2 separate regions of the Homo sapiens genome follow, and region 2 is linked to region 1. The links are contacts of gene promoters, found by promoter capture Hi-C in human tissues and cell types (Jung and others, 2019). All regions are on one chromosome and are shown on one strand. Each heading gives the region's core, a stretch centred on a gene start or on the middle of the fragment in contact. The rest is flanking DNA. Distances are from core to core; before and after follow the strand shown. Region 1 has its middle 18 kb from the start of LINC00661. Region 2 holds the start of CIB3 (calcium and integrin binding family member 3).

Region 1 (7,679 bases), core at 3,700-6,199:
AGAGGTAGTCCTCCATGTGCCCTGAGTATCCTTTCTGGGTATGCCAAGAATGTAAGACACTGATATTCTTAACTGGAGCCATTTCTGAGAGTTGTGTTTGCAGAGAACAGCCTTGAGGGATGAGGTAATGACTCCCTTTTGACACTTATCAGGCTTGCTATAAAAGCAGATCTCCTAAGCCTACTGCTCCATCCCTGTAATGCAATATACTATGTCAGCAAGCATCAGTAGAAGCCCACCTGTGTTGCCCCATGGGATTTGGGTGGCTTGGAGAAAAAAGCAAACCAACAAGAAACACATGCTCCTTGCTGTGCTATGAGTAATAAATCATGCTTTGTCTCTTACCCACAAATCTCTGTCTTCTGGCAGAATCCATGAAACCATAACAAGATAACTTATCAATTTGCAATTTTTAAAAAAATTCTAGAGATGTCACGAAGCCCTTGCCCAAATTCTTCATTTGCCCCCCATATCCATACCCTTTGAAATGTGATTTTTTCAGTGACTTCCATTAAGAGACCGAGCATTTTTTACTACCCACCACTTTTTGATTCTCTGTTGGACTTTTGGCTTTCTCTGACAAAACACAATGTGAAATTGATGAGGTAATAACTAATGAATCTAACCTGCCTCGTCTCACTCCCTGGAACCCTCTCTGCCATGTGAACCATGGGGTGCCTTCTGGAGGGATAGAATCCCTGGAGGAAAGTCCAGGAGTCCCAGCTGAGGACATCTGTGTCAATTTGAAACCAGACAAAACCCAAACGTTTGAGAGAACTGAGCCAAGACCAGCAAGGCTGCCTACCTGACCCACAGCTTCTCATGTGCCATGAATATCTCTTGCACATCCAGAAGAACCCACTGATATGGTTTGGCTGTGTCCCCACCCAAACTTGAATTATAGTTCCCATAATCCCTATTTGTCTTGGGAGACACCTGGTGGGAGGCAATTTAATCCTGGTGGTGATTACCTTCATGGTGTTCTCATGGTAGTGAGGGAGTTCTTACAAGATCTGATGGTTTTATAAAGGGCTTTTCCCCCTTTTGCTCAGCCCTTCCTCTTGCTGCTGCCATGTGAAGAAGGACGTGTTTGCTTCCCCTTCCACCATGATTGTAAGTTTCCTGAGGCCTTTCCAGCCCTGCAGAACTGTGAGTCAATTGAACCTCTTTCTTTTATAAATTACCTAGTCTTGGATATGTCTTTATTAGCAGCATGAGAATGGACTAATATAGTAAATTGGTAGAGTGAGGTGCTGCTGTTAACATACCCAAAAATGTGGAAGTGACTTTGAAACTGGGTAACAGGCAGAGGTTGGAACAGTTTGGAGGGCTCAGAAGACAGGAAAATGTGGAAAAGTTTGGAACTTCCTAGAGACTTGTTGAATGGCTTTGACCAAAATGCTGATAGTGATATGGACAATGAAGTCCAGGCTAAGGTGGTCTCAGATGGAGGTGAGGAAGTTGTTGAGAACTGGAATAAAGGTGATTCTTGCTATGCTTTAGCAAAGAGATTGACAGCACTTTGCTTCTGCCCTAGAGATCTGTGAAACTTTGAACTTGAGAAAGATGATTTAGGGTATCTGGCAGAAGAAATTTCTAAGCATCAAAGCATTCAAGAGGAAGCAGAGAAAAAAAGTTTGAAAAATTTTCAGCCTGATGATGCAATAGAAAAGAAAAACCCATTTTCTGGGGAGAAATTCGAGCCTGCTGCAGAAATTCACAGAAGTAACAAGGAGCCAAATGTTAATCACCAAGACAATGGGGAAAATTACTCCAGGGCATGTCAGAGACCTTAGTGGCAGCCCCTCCCATCACAGGCCCAGAGTCCTAGGAGGAAAAAATGGTTACTTGGGCCAGGCCCAGGGCCCCTTTGCTGTGTGCAACCTAAGGACTTGGTGTCCTGCATCCCAGCTGCTCCAGCCATGGCAAGTGGCCAAGGTACATGACTTCAGCGGATGCAAGTCCCAAGCTTTGGCAGCTTCCACGTGGCGTTGAGCCTGTGGGTGCACAGAAGTCAAGAATTGAGGTTTAGGAACCTCGGCCTAGATTTCAGAGGATGTACGGAAATGCCTGATATTCAGGCAGAAGTTTGCTGCAAGCGTGAGGCCCTCATGGAGAACCTCTGGTAGGGCTATATGGAAGGGAAACGTGGGGTGCAAGCCCCCACACGTAGTCCCTATTGGGGCACTGCCTAGTGGAGCTGTGAGAAGAGGGCCACTCAATATCCCAAAATGGTAGATCCACTGACAGCTTGCACTGTGCACCTGGAAAAGCAACTGACACTCAACACCAGCTTGTGAAAGCAGCTAGAAGGGGGCTTGTACCCTGCAAAGCCACAGGAGTGGAGCTGCCCAAGGTCATGGGAGCCCACCTCTTGTATCAGCATGAACTGAATGTGAGACATGGAGTCGAAGGAGTTCATTTTGGAACTTTAAGGTTTAATGACTCCCCTACTGCATTTTGGACTTACATGGGGCTAGTAGCCCTTTTGTTTTGGACAAGTTCTCCCATTTGGAATGGTGTATTTACCAAATGTCTGTACCCCCATTGTATCTAGGAAGTAACTAACTTGTTTTTGATTCTACAGGCTCATAGGAGGAAAGGAATTGCCTCATCTCAGATGAAACTTTACACTGTGGACTTTTGAGTTAATGCTGAGATGAATTAAGACTTTGAGGGACTGTTTGGAAGGTGTGATTGGTGTTGAAGTGTGAGGACATGAGATTTAGGAGGGGGCAGGGATAGAAGATGTGGTTTGGCTGTGTCCCCACCCAAATCTCATATTCATTTGTAGCTCCCATAATTCCCAAGTGTCATGGAAGGGACCAAGTGGAAGATAATTGAATCATGGGGGTGAGTATTTCCCATGATGTTCTCATGATAGTGAATAAGCCTCTCAAGATCTGATGGTTTTATAAAGGGGGAGTTCCCCTGCATACACTCTCTTGCCTGCCACCATGTAAGACATGACTTTGCTTCTCATTCACCTTCCACCATGATAGTGAGGCCTCCCCATCCATGTGGAACTGTGAGTCAATTAAACCTCTTTCCTTTTTAAAGTACTCAGTCTCAGGTATGTCTTTATCAGCAGCATGAGAACAGACTAATATACCAGCCACCTGTCTCATAGACTTGTTAGCAATCATAAAACCTTATTGTTTTAAACCAATGAGTTCTCAAGTTGTTTCTTACTCAGCAACAGCTACTATACAATTGTCATCATGACCCTCTTGAGTTTACAAGAGGAAATATAGAAACAGACACTTTCTGGGCACCTACTATGCACCAGGGATATGACTCCATTACATCACCTTGACCATCTTTTAAGTAGGGATTATTATACCCATTTTACAGCTGAGGAAACCAAAGCTCAGAGAGGAAAAGCAATGCTGAATGCCACCCAGCAGAGCCAAAATTCCAGACCAGATCTGTCTGTGGTGCCTCCACCCCAAGGCTTCAGCTGGAACTCTGGGTTCAAAGAATTCACGTGCATGATATTCACACTGTCAGTGAAAAACTTCATATAGGGCTTCAGCATGTTGAAATGGAAGGCGGGCATCAGCATCTGACGGTGGCAGCTCCACTTGTCACTGGCATTTACCAGGAGCCCATCCCCTAGTAGAGGCAGTCAAGGGCCATGGGCAAGGGTATCTCCCTCTTCTTACCCATCCCCCAAGGTTTTTCCCACCCTTGTTCACCTACAGGTACTCACCCAGCCAGGGCTTCAGGAACTTGTAGAAGGCCTCGTCTTTTGGTGCAATGGTGGCTGACATGAATGAGGACCATCAGAAACCATGGAAAGGGTGAGGGAGGGACTTTGGGTGTGGGGTGAGGCTCCAAGCCAGAGACCACACTTACTCCCTCAAAGCGCAGCATAGTAGAAACATGTGACATGGCCCCGATATGTGTTAACATGTCCTGACATGGTCACAAAATACACAACAAGCCCTAGCATGCTATGCTGTGCTCTAACAAGGATCTTAGACACTCTGAAATGACCTTAGCATGCCCTATAGGCAGGCCCCAGTTAGGATTCAGATTTAAATATGGTCCCTTTAATATCCCAGAAATAGCCCATGTCTGGTCCCAAATGTTCCATAGTCATGACTCAAATATACCCTGAAGCCTGTCTCAAACAATACTCAAACAATGTCTCAGAATGTTTACACACAGACCCTGGGTTCCAGACATGAGGCACATCCCTGGGATCATATGGAGATGGTTATGTCTAGGGCTCAGCTGTGGCCAAGAGTATTTGGGGTATGTGGGGTTTGTCTGCGATTCTGTTTGAGATAGTCTTTTTCTTCTGCTGGTGACGTCTGGGCCATGTTTGGGATGCGCCTCACGTTTGGGCAAGGGTAGGGCTCCAGGCTCGGGTGGCGTCTCCTACTGGAGATTCCTAGGGCCTGGAGCAGGAGGGCAATGAGCATATAGTGGAAGAACCACAGGATGGGGTAGAAGGAACCGACCCACAGAGGTGAATGTCATGAAAATAGCAGTCCAGATCCTCCACCAACTGCATGTCCTCCTCATTGTTCTGGGCTTGGGGACATGCAAGGTGATGCCAGGCCTGGCAGGAGGTCTTGAATTCTAATGTTGCCCATTGCATCGCTTCATCCCCCACTTTAAAACATTCCTACTCATTGTTAGAAACCCAGCTCCAGCAACTTCTCTTCCAGGAAGCCTTCCAGCCTGCCCCAGGAGAGACCAGGTTCTCCTCTGGGCTCTCCCAGCCCATCTCCTTCTGGACCACTCCTGACCCCATGACTTTGGGGATGTCTCTGCCCAGATCCATCTCCTCAAGCTTGGGAGATCCTTCCAGGACAGAGCCTTGGGTTGAGGCCTCATGGGGCTCCAGTAGTGCACAGAACGCCGGGGTGGTGGGGGGATGGCAGTAGTGGGAGGAGACGCTGAGATGGGGGTTGGTGAATACATGAAGGAAAGAGAAGATGGCTGAGGGTGAAGCAAGAAGGAAGGGCCTGGATACTGCAGCGGCCACACAGAAGCTTGGGGGAGGAGGGGCTTGCAGGCCTCAGATGCACCACGGCATTCACCACCAGGTGTTTCAGATGGTACCTGAGGCATTGATGACAGACCAGATGATGTTGGGGTGGCACAACCTGATGATGGGAGTAATGGGGTTCATCCAGATCTTAAAGCCCTGGGGGTAAGTGGCCACCAGCTGAGTCAGAACTCTCATGCCCTCCTTCATGTGGGGACCTGCAAGCAAGGCAGGGGCCTGTAATCCCAGCTACTCGGGATGCTGAGACACAAGAATCTCTTGAACCCAGGAGGCGGAGGTTGCAGTGAGCCGAGATCACGCTACTGCACTCCAGCCTGGGCAACACAGCAAGACTCCGTCTCAAAAAAAAAAAAAAAAGAAAAGAAAAGGAGGCCATCCTAGCACCATGCATGGAGTCCAGTTCTTTGGATAAGTATGCCACTGGGCAATGTTATGACCCTATAACTTGAGTCAGAACTCCTATAGCCATTTCTTTTTGTTCATGAACATATAGAAAGAAAGGCTTAGTTATGTCTGGTAGTCCTAAAGCTGGGGCCCAAGTTAAAGCTTCCTTGATCTGTTCAAATGCTATTTCTTGATTAGTCTTCGAAAGGAGGGGCTGTTTTTCTCCTATCTTTGTGGCTTCATATAATGGTTTAGCCATTAATGAAAAATTTGGAATCCAAATATGGCAAAATCCTGCTGCCTCTAAAAATTATCGTATTTGACACCGGGTGGTTGGGGTTGGGAGTGCACAAATGGCCTGCTTCTGTTTATAGCCAAGCTGGTGTTCTCTGTGGCTTACTATGAAACTTAGATATTTAACTTTTTCATGGCAAATTTGGGCTTTCTTTTTAGATACTTTGTAACTTGTTTTCCATAAAAGATGGAGGAGGTCCTGGGTTCCTTGGTAATAATCCTCTCGGGTTGGGGCTGCCAAAAGAAGGTCGTCCACGTACTGAAACAAGGCACAGTTATCATTTGGCAGGGTATAGGCCTTGAGGTTTGAGGCCAGTGCTTCCTCAAAGATTGTAAGAGAGTTTTTGAACCCTTGTGGGAGCTTAGTCCAGGTGAGCTGTGTAGCTTCCTTGTCCTATTGAAATGCAAAAATGGGCTGACTAACTGGTGCCAGTCAGATACAGAAGAAGGCATCTTTTAAGTCTAAGACCGTAAACCAAGTGGCAACTTGCTGGAATAAGTCCCATTAAAGTATATAGGTTTGGTACTACTAGGTGGATAGCCACTGTGGCCCTGTTTCTAGCCCGCAAGTCTTGCACTGGTCTATACACATTAGACCCTGGTCCTGGTGTCGGCTTTCATGCTGGCAAAAGTGGAGTATTCCGGGGAGACTGGCATCGGACTAAGATCCTGTGTTTATAGAGCCAGTCTAAATGCTTACAAATGCCTCAAATAGCCTCTCAGGGGACCGGGTACTGACGAACTCGAACCAGAGTTGCTCCTGGTTTCAGTTTAACTACTACTGGTGGATGATTTACAGCCAGCCTAGGTGGGTTATCTTCAGCCTATACCTTAGGAATTTTATTAACTAGTCCAAATAATAATTTTTCTTCTTTCCGTGTATGAAGCTGCACTGGCGCCTGCAGTTTCTTTCTATGAAGTCTCCATTCCTCAGCCTGTGGAATGGTAAGGGTTAACACTATGGCTTTTGGGTGAGTCAGATTGAAAGTCATATCTTTTTGAAGCCTAAAAGTAATCTGTGCCTGCAGTTTTTGAAGTAGGTCTCTTCTTAACAAGGGAACTGGACAAGTTGGGAGGTATAGGAATTCATGCTAGACTTCTCGTCTTCCTATAACACACCTCCTTGACTGACTAAATGGCCTCTTCTCTGAGACTCCAGCAGCTCCTGCAATAGTTGTATAGTTCTTGGATAGTGGCCCTATGGGTCAAGTTACTACAGAGTGTTCAGCCTCAGCATCTACAATAAAGTTCATCAATTGGCCTCCAACTTTTAATGTGACCACAGGCCCCTGGAGGCCTAATGAGAAGGAGCCTGGTCTGTCCTAATCCTCACATCCTTCAGCTCCTGTCAGCCCAATCAGGTCAGTATCTGGTTCCTCTAAGGCACCGCAGCCCTTGGCCGATGGCCTCTTTGTCTCACGGCCTTGGCCATTTCTTTCATTGCCTTCTGGACATTCATCCTTTTAGTGTCCTTTCTTTTTGCATCTCTCATATTGATCCCTCTCTAGCTTTCAAATTTGGTCGGCTTTCAAATCTTTGTCTAACTTAACCTCTTCCATGTCCACGTCCACGTCCGTGTCCTCTCACATTGCTAATCTCTTTTTCTATAAGGCCTGCTGCCAACAGATCTGCCTTTTTTTTAAGCCTTCAATCTGCTTCCTTGTTTTCCTCCTGGTCATAGTTAACATACACTTTGGTGGCTACTTCTATAAGCTGGGTGGCGTTCACGCCTGCAAAACCTTCTAACTGATGAAGCTTTCATTTGATGTTACCATGGGCCTGTCCTACAAATGATGTATTCACCATACGCTGATTTTCAGTGGCCTCAGGGTCAAACAGGGTGAAAAGTTGGTATGCCTCACAGAGTCTCTCATAAAACTGACTTGGGCTCTCATCAGCTCCCTGAAGCACTTCTGAAATCTTCCCTGTATTAATTGCTTTCTTTCCACCCTCCCTTAGCCCTTGCAGAAGTGCCTCT
Region 2 (7,679 bases), core at 1,743-4,242, 170 kb after region 1:
GGAAGAGGCCGGATGCAGCGGCTCATGCCTGTAATCCCAGTACTTTGGGAGGCCGAGGCGGGTGGATCACCAGAGGTCAGGAGTTCGAGACTAGCCTGGCCAACATGGTGAAACCCCATCTCTACTGAAAATACAAAAAATTAGCTGGGCGTGGTGACGGGCACCTGTAATCCCAACTACTCGGGAGGCCGAGGCAGGAGAATCACTTGAACCTGGGAGCTGGAGGTTGCAGTGAGCTGAGATCGTGTCACTGCACTCCAGCCTGGGCAACAAGAACGAGACTCTGTCTCAAAAAAAAAAAAGAAAAGAAAAAAGAAAGAAAGAGGCCGGGCGCGGTGGCTCACGCCTGTAATTCCAGCACTTTGAGAGGCCGAGGCAGGTGGATCACGAGGACAGGAGATCAAGACCATCCTGGCTAACATGGTGAAACCCCGTCTCCACTAAAAATATAAAAATTTAGCCAGGCGTGGTGGTGGGCGCCTGTAGTCCCAGCTACTCCGGAGGCTGAGGCAGGACAATGGTGTGAACCCGGGAGGCGCAGCATGCAGTGAACCGAGATCAAGCCAGTGCACTCCAGCCTGGGCAACAGAATGAGACTCGGTCTCAATAAAAAAAATAAATAAATAAAAAATAAAAAAGAAAGAAAGAAAAGAAGAAAGAAAGAAAAAAAAGGAGGGATTCCTCAATGGGGCAGAGCAGAGACAAACAGCTAATAGTCACATTTTTTCTAAAGGGCAGACAAAAGATATTTTGCAAATAACTGAATACCACACACACTATCCAGATTATAAGGCCAGTTCTCCACTCAGAAGCCCTCACCTGTGACACCATACCTTCATTAGGGCATGCTGAGCAGCAGCCTTGCAGAGACCATCCTTGGTGGGTCTGAGGTCCCCAAGCTGCTAGGGACTGTCTCTGAGAGAGACATGAGTCCCTAGGTCATATGATGACTAGGAACTCAATGAAGGTGGGGTGGGGAGACCTAGAACTTTCATCCTGACCACTCAGTTCCCTGTCGGGGTCCCATCAGGGAATACCCTGGGTTTAGGTTTCTGTGTGGCTCTGAGCATGTTCCTCTCCTCTCCCTCTCTGTGCCTTGGTTATTCTATCTGATAAGCAAGAAGCTTGGGACAGACAAAATGTCTGTCCTTGGGGCCTTGGGGCTCTGTGCATTTACCCTTCAGCCTGGGATCAGCCCCGCCCTGTCTGAGCCTCAGTTTCCCCATCAGTAATTTGATCGTGATGGCCGAGGTGACCCTGCAAGCTGTCCTCACCCAAACAATGGGGCTCACTAGTAAAAGGTGTGGCCATCAATAATGGATGTCCTGTTACTACACAACTGGGGCCTTGGCCCCGATCACACTGCAGCTGAACCCTGGCCAGCTTGGGTTTCATAGCTCCAAGTTCATGGGTCGGGGCCCCTGGGCAATGGCCCCACAGGCCGAGTGATGATGTGGGATACTCATCTGTGCCCATCGTGCTGGGTCACGCCAGGGACCTGCAGCAGCCTTGGGCCACCTCCTCACACCCTCATCTTAATGCCAAGCCCACAACCCAGACTGGGCTCTGGACTTTGCACCTGGGCTCCCAGCCTCAAGTCCCAGTCTCAGGAGAATCTTTATCTTTCATTTTGTTTTTCTGAGGCAGAGTCTAGCTCTGTCACCCAGGCTGGAGCACAGTGGCGTGATCTCGGCTCACTGCAACCTCCACCTCCCAGGTTCAAGCAATTCTCCTGCCTCAGCCTCTTGAGTAGCTGGGATTACAGGCACCCACCACCTCGCCCAGCTGATTTTTGTATTATTAGCAGAGATGGGGTTTCACCATGTTGGCCAGGCTGATCTTAAACTCCTGACCTCAGGTGATCCACCCACCTTGTCCTCCCAAAGTGCTGGGATTACAGGCATGAGCCACCGCGCCCAGCCTCAGGAGAATCTTTCTAACGTGCTGATGGTCTCTCCCCTGCTCATGCATGCTCCATAGCTCCCTGCCACCCTTGGGAGAAAGCCCAAGCTCATCAGCCTAGAGACTGGGACAGTATGACAAGATGTGACTTGTCAGCTTCTCCATCTCTGCCTCTGTCCACTGACCACACCTGCCCCCCTTCCCCATTTGAGTCCCAACAAATTGGAAATACCAGTTGGGCATGGTGGCTCACACCTGTAATCCCAGCACTTTGGGAGGCTGAGGCAGGGGGATCGCTTGAGCCCAAGGGTTTAAGACCAGCCTGGGCAACATAGTGAGAGCCCCATCTCTATAAAAAAATACAAAAATGAGGTACATGTGGTGGCTCGCACCAGTGGTCCTAGCTACTCGAGAGGCTGAGGTGGGAGGATCACCTGACCTTGGGAGATCGAGCCTGCAATGAGCCATGATTGCACCACTGCACTCCAGCCCAGGCAATAGAGACAGACCCTGTCTCAAAAAAAAAGAAAAGAAGGAAGGAAGGAAGGAAGGGAGGGAGGGAGGGAGAGAGAGAGAGAAAAGAGAAAGAAAGAAAGAAAGACTACTTACACACACACACACACACACACACACACACACACACACACACACCAAATTGCAAATATCCTCCAGCAATGAATAGAAAGTTGTTTTTCCAGATCTTCTCTCCCTTCCTCCCTGGACTGACCTCATGATCTCCTTCCTTGTGAAAAATGTGCAGTCCTGTGGAGAGAGGTGTTGTCTTAACCCGAACCCTGCCTCTGGGGCCTCCTCCCACGGCCTCCTCCCTCCACCCCACACTCACACAGATGGCCTGATGCTGCCACACACAGAGCAGAACCAGGAACCCAGGCGGACGGTACACCCAGATGAAGGCATTCTGTTCCCATTTCCCAGACCACGGAACCAAAGTTGTCAAACCCACTGAGGACCCATCCTGCCCCCCTCTACCTGATACGCTTCCAGCTGCTCGTGTGTGAAGACTGTCTGCTTGTTGCCCATGGTGTGAACCACAGCCCAGACTTGGGGATGCACCCCAAAGGCTCCCAGCTTCCTCGGGGCCACACGGGTTGCCAGGCTGTTGTGTACCAGTGTCTGGGCAAATCTCCCTGCCCTGGCTGTCACCCACCCACCTACGCCATCACCCCCTGCTTGATGAGACTCAAATTACAGCCAGGCTCTCTGGACAACAGCCTGAATGTGTCCATGGGTAAGGATAAGGGCTGTGGGATGTCACAGAGAAGACCTCAGTGGGGAGGCCACATCTGCCACCACAAGGTGAGGCTGGGGTTATGGGGCACACTCAAGAGACAGGCAGGGTATACAGAAGGGCTATGGGCACACTGCAGCTCAAATCCCAGCTCTCTGCCCACTAGCTGTGTGGCCCTGGGCAAGTCACCTGACTTCTCTGAACCTCATTCATGAGATGAAAATTACATTATACCTACCTCATAGGGTCATTCTCAGGATCTGAGATTTAAAAAAAAAAAAAAAAGGTTTTGACTGGGCAAGGTGGCTCACACCTGTAATCCCAGCACTTTGGGAGGGCCAGGCAGGCGGATCACCTGAGGTCAGGAGTTCAAGACCAGCCTGGCCAACACGGCAAAACCCCATCTCTACTAAAAATACAAAAATTAGCTTGGCATTGTGACACATGCCTGTAATCCCAGCTACTCCAGAGACTGAGGCAGGAGAATTGCTTGAACCCAGGAGGTGGAGGTTGCAGTGAGCCGAGATCCCGCCATTGCACTCCAGACTGGGTGACAGAGTAAGACTCCATCTCCAAAAAAAAAAAAAAGGTTTTGGCTGGGCGAGGTGGCTCATACCTGTAATCCCAGCACTTTAGGAGGACAAAGCATGAGATTCACTTGAGGCCAGGAGTTCAAGATCAGCTTGGGCAGCATGGCAAGGCCCTATCTCTACTAAAAATACAAAAATTAGCTGGATGTGGTGGTGCATGCCTGTGGTCCCAGCTACTCAGGAGGCTGAGGTGGGAGGATTGCTTGAGCCCAGGAGTTTGAGGCTGCAGTGAGCCATGATTGCATCACTGCATTGGGAACATAATGGTGAACAAGCTAGATGAAGTTCTGGGGTGTGCATTGACATTATTATTTTATTACATTTTATTTTTTTGAGACAGTCTCACTCTGTTGCCCAGGCTGGAGTGCAGTGGTGTGATCTCGGTTCACTGCAATCTCTGCCTCCCAGGTTCAAGTGATTCTCCTGCCTCAGCATCCCAGGTAGCTGGGACCACAGGTGTCCACCATGCCAAGCTAATTTTTTTTGTATTTTTTTTTTTTGAGACGGAGTCTCGCTCTGTCACCCAGTCTAGGGTGCAGTGGCGTGATCTCGGCTCACTGCAAGCTCCACCTCCCGAGTTCAGGCCATTCTCCTGCCTCAGCCTCCCGAGTAGCTGGGATTATTACAGGCGCCCACCACCACGCCTGGCTAAGTTTTGTATTTTTAGTAGAGACAGAGTTTCACTATGTTGGCCAGGCTGGTCTCGAACTCCTGACCTCAGGTGATCCACCCGCCTCGGCCTCCCAAAGTGCTGGAATTACATGTGTGAGCCACCTCGCCCGGCCCAAAGGGCAGATCTAATGTAGCAGCTACCAACTTTATTAAGGCCCAGAATCCTCTTGGGTGGAGAATCTGAGAGTCTAAATTTCTTAGCCTGGCCCTCCATGCCCTTCTCACTTTGGGTCTCACCTGTGTTTTCTCTACCTGGCCTGGACTATTGCAATGTTTCCCAGCAGGCTTTCCTGCCTCGGCCTCATCAAGCATCCTCTGCCAAATCTGTGCAGTCATCTTGTAAAATGTGACCCTGATCAGGCTTGAAAGATGCCTCAAGGATGACTTTTTTTTTTTTTTGAGACAGGGTCTCACTCTGTCACCCAGGCTGGAGAGCAGTGATACAATCATGGCTCACTGCAGCGACCCTCCTTCCTCAGCCTCCCAGGTAGCTGGCACTAGAGGCACATGCTGCCACATCCGGCTAATTTTTTTTTTTTTGTATTTTTTGTGGAGACAGGGTCTGTCTATGTTGCCCAGGCTGGTCTTGAACACCTGGCCTCAAGTGATCTACCCACCTTAGCCTCCCAAAGTGCTGGGATTACAGGCATGAACCACCATGCCCAGCCATCCAAGAATAACTTTCAAAAAATAAACAATATCAAGTGTTGGTGAGGGTATGGAGCAACTGGAATGCTCATACATTGCTGGTGTTGATGCAAAATGGTATAGACACTCTGGAAAATAGGTTGGCTGGGTTTTTTTTAAATAGAATTAAACTTAACCTTACCACAAGATTCAGGGCCTGGTATGGTGGCTCATGCCTGTAATCCCAGCACTTTGGGAGGCCAAGGCAAGAGGACCACTTTAGCCCAGGAGTTGGAGACCAGCCTAGGCAACATGGTGAAGCCCCATCTCTACAAAAATACAAAAATTAGCCAGGTTTGGTGGTATCCAGCTACTTGGGAGGTTTGCTTGAGGTAGGGAGGTCGAGGATGAAGTGAGCTATGATCACTCCACTGTACTGCACTCCAGCCTGGGAGACAGAGTGAGATCCTGTCTCAAAAAAAAAAAAAAAAAAAGACTCCTGGGTGTTTACCCAAGGGAAATAAAAACCTATGTTCAACTGAGAGTGACCCCTAATGTAAACTATCCACTAACCACTGTGGGTGATAATGATGTATCAGTGTCAGTTCATCAATTGTAACAGACTAGCTACTGTCATGCACTTGCATGTGGAGGATGTTGATTGTAGGGGAAGCTATACAAGTATGAAAGCAGCAGGTGTACGGGAAATCTCTGTACCTTCTGATCAATTTTGCTGTGAAACTAAGACTGCTCTAAAAAAATAAAGTATAGTGTAAAAAAAAAATTTAAACTAGGTTCACACAAAAACCTGTCATGCCCACAGAATGGGACAAATGCTCAGTGCTCAAGTCATTTATATAAAATGGCATAATATTTGCATATAGCCTGTGCACATCTTCCATACACTTTATTTATTTATTTATTTATTTTTATTTTACTTTTTCGAGTTGGAGTCTGGCTCTGTCACCCAGGCTGGAGTGCAGTGGCGTAATCTCAGCCCACTGCAACCTCTGCCTCCTAGGTTCAAGCAATTCTCCTGCCTCAGCCTCCCTAGTAGCTGGGATTACAGGTGCACACCACTGTGTCCAGCTAATTTTTATATTTTTAGTAGAGACGGGGTTTTGCCATGTTGGCCAGGCTGGTCACAAACTCCTGACCTCAAGTGATCCGGCCCACCTTGGCCTCTCAAAATGCTGGGATTACATGGGCCACCATGCCCGGCCCTCCATAGACTTTAAATTATCTCTAAATTATGTATAATATCTAATGAAATATAAATGCTACATAAATAATTGTTACACATTTTTATTTGTATTCTTTTTATTGTTGTATTATTTTTATTTTATTGGTTCCAGGTATTTTCACTCCGTGGTTTATTGAATCCATGGATAAGGAAACTGGATATGAAGGGCTAACTGTATTTGTGAATCATATATCTCATAAGGAACTACTATTCAGAATATATAAAGAACTCTCAGGGCCGGGCGCACGCCTGTAATCCCAGCACTTTGGGAGAATGAGGTGGGTGGATCACCTGAGGTCAGGAGTTAGAGACCAGCCTGGCCAACATAGTGAAACCCTGTCTCTACTAAAAATACAAAAAATTAGCCAGGTGTGGTGGTGGGCGCCTGTAATCCCAGCTACTCGGGAGGCTGAGACAGGAAAATCGCTTGAACCTGGGAGGGGGAGGTTGCAGTGAGCTGAGATCGTGCCACTGCACTCCAGCCTGGGCAACAAGAGCGAGACTCTATCTCGAAAAAAACCAAAAAACAAAACCCACGATAAAAACTAAGAACTCTTACATCTCAAAACTAGAAAGACAACCCAAATAAAAACATTATGCTGATCAAGGTAACTTTTGCAAAAAAGAGAAAAGAAGAAAACAAAAACATTATGTTGAGTGAAAGAAGCTAGAGATGAACAGTCCCATATAGTGTGATTCTATTTACATGAAATGTGCACACCACCACACCTGGCTAATTTTTTAAATTTTTGTAGAGATGGGATCTCACCATGTCGTTCAGACTCGTCTCTACCTTCTGAGCTCAACTGATCCTCCCACCTCACCCTCCTAAGTAGCTGGGACCACAGGCAGGTGCCACCGCACTCGCTAATTTTTTGTATTTTTTTTTTATTCCACTTGGGTAAATATCGAGGGGTAGGATTAATGGCTCATATTCAGTATATAAGAAACTTGCCAAACTTCTTCCTAAAGAGGCTGCACTAGTTTGCTTTCTCACCATCAGTGTTTGTAGGTTCTAGTTATTTCACATCTTCTCCAGCAGTTACTATTTTCAGTTTTTTATTTACTTTTATATTTTAATTAATTAATTAATTAATTTATTTATTTATTTATTTATTTATTTCTTGAGACAGAGTCTCGCTCTGTCGCCCAGGCTGGAGTGCAGTGGCGCAATCTCTGCTCACTGCAAGCTCCGCCTCCCAGGTTCCCACCATTCTCCTGCCTCAGCCTCCCGAGTAGCTAGGACTACAGGCGCCCACCACCACACCCGGCTAATTTTTTATATTTTTAGCAGAGATGGGGTTTCACCGTGTTAGCCAGGATGGTCTCGATCTCCTGACCTCGTGATCTGCATTTTTTGTATTTTTTGTAGAGATGAGGTCTCAATATGTTGCTC

What was found. Contacts are between HindIII fragments. The study calls those that stand out against the background at their distance.
Region 2: the fragment with the promoter of CIB3 here is called in contact with a fragment that was not itself captured in region 1 in 1 of the 25 tissues and cell types used here (liver).

What each region holds. Positions count from the first base shown.
Region 1 is chr19:15,993,816-16,001,494 of GRCh38, forward strand. It overlaps the pseudogene LOC124900424 and the pseudogene CYP4F9P. Among named protein-coding and RNA genes, the nearest start is that of LINC00661, 18 kb to the right of the region's middle. The HindIII fragment of the contact is 3,126 bases long and covers 3,387-6,512 here.
Region 2 is chr19:16,170,533-16,178,211 of GRCh38, forward strand. CIB3 (calcium and integrin binding family member 3) reads right to left here and starts at 2,993. Exons shown (of 6, transcript NM_054113.4): 1 at 2,893-2,993; 2 at 2,630-2,664. The coding sequence starts at 2,943. The HindIII fragment of the contact is 31,728 bases long and covers 1-7,679 here.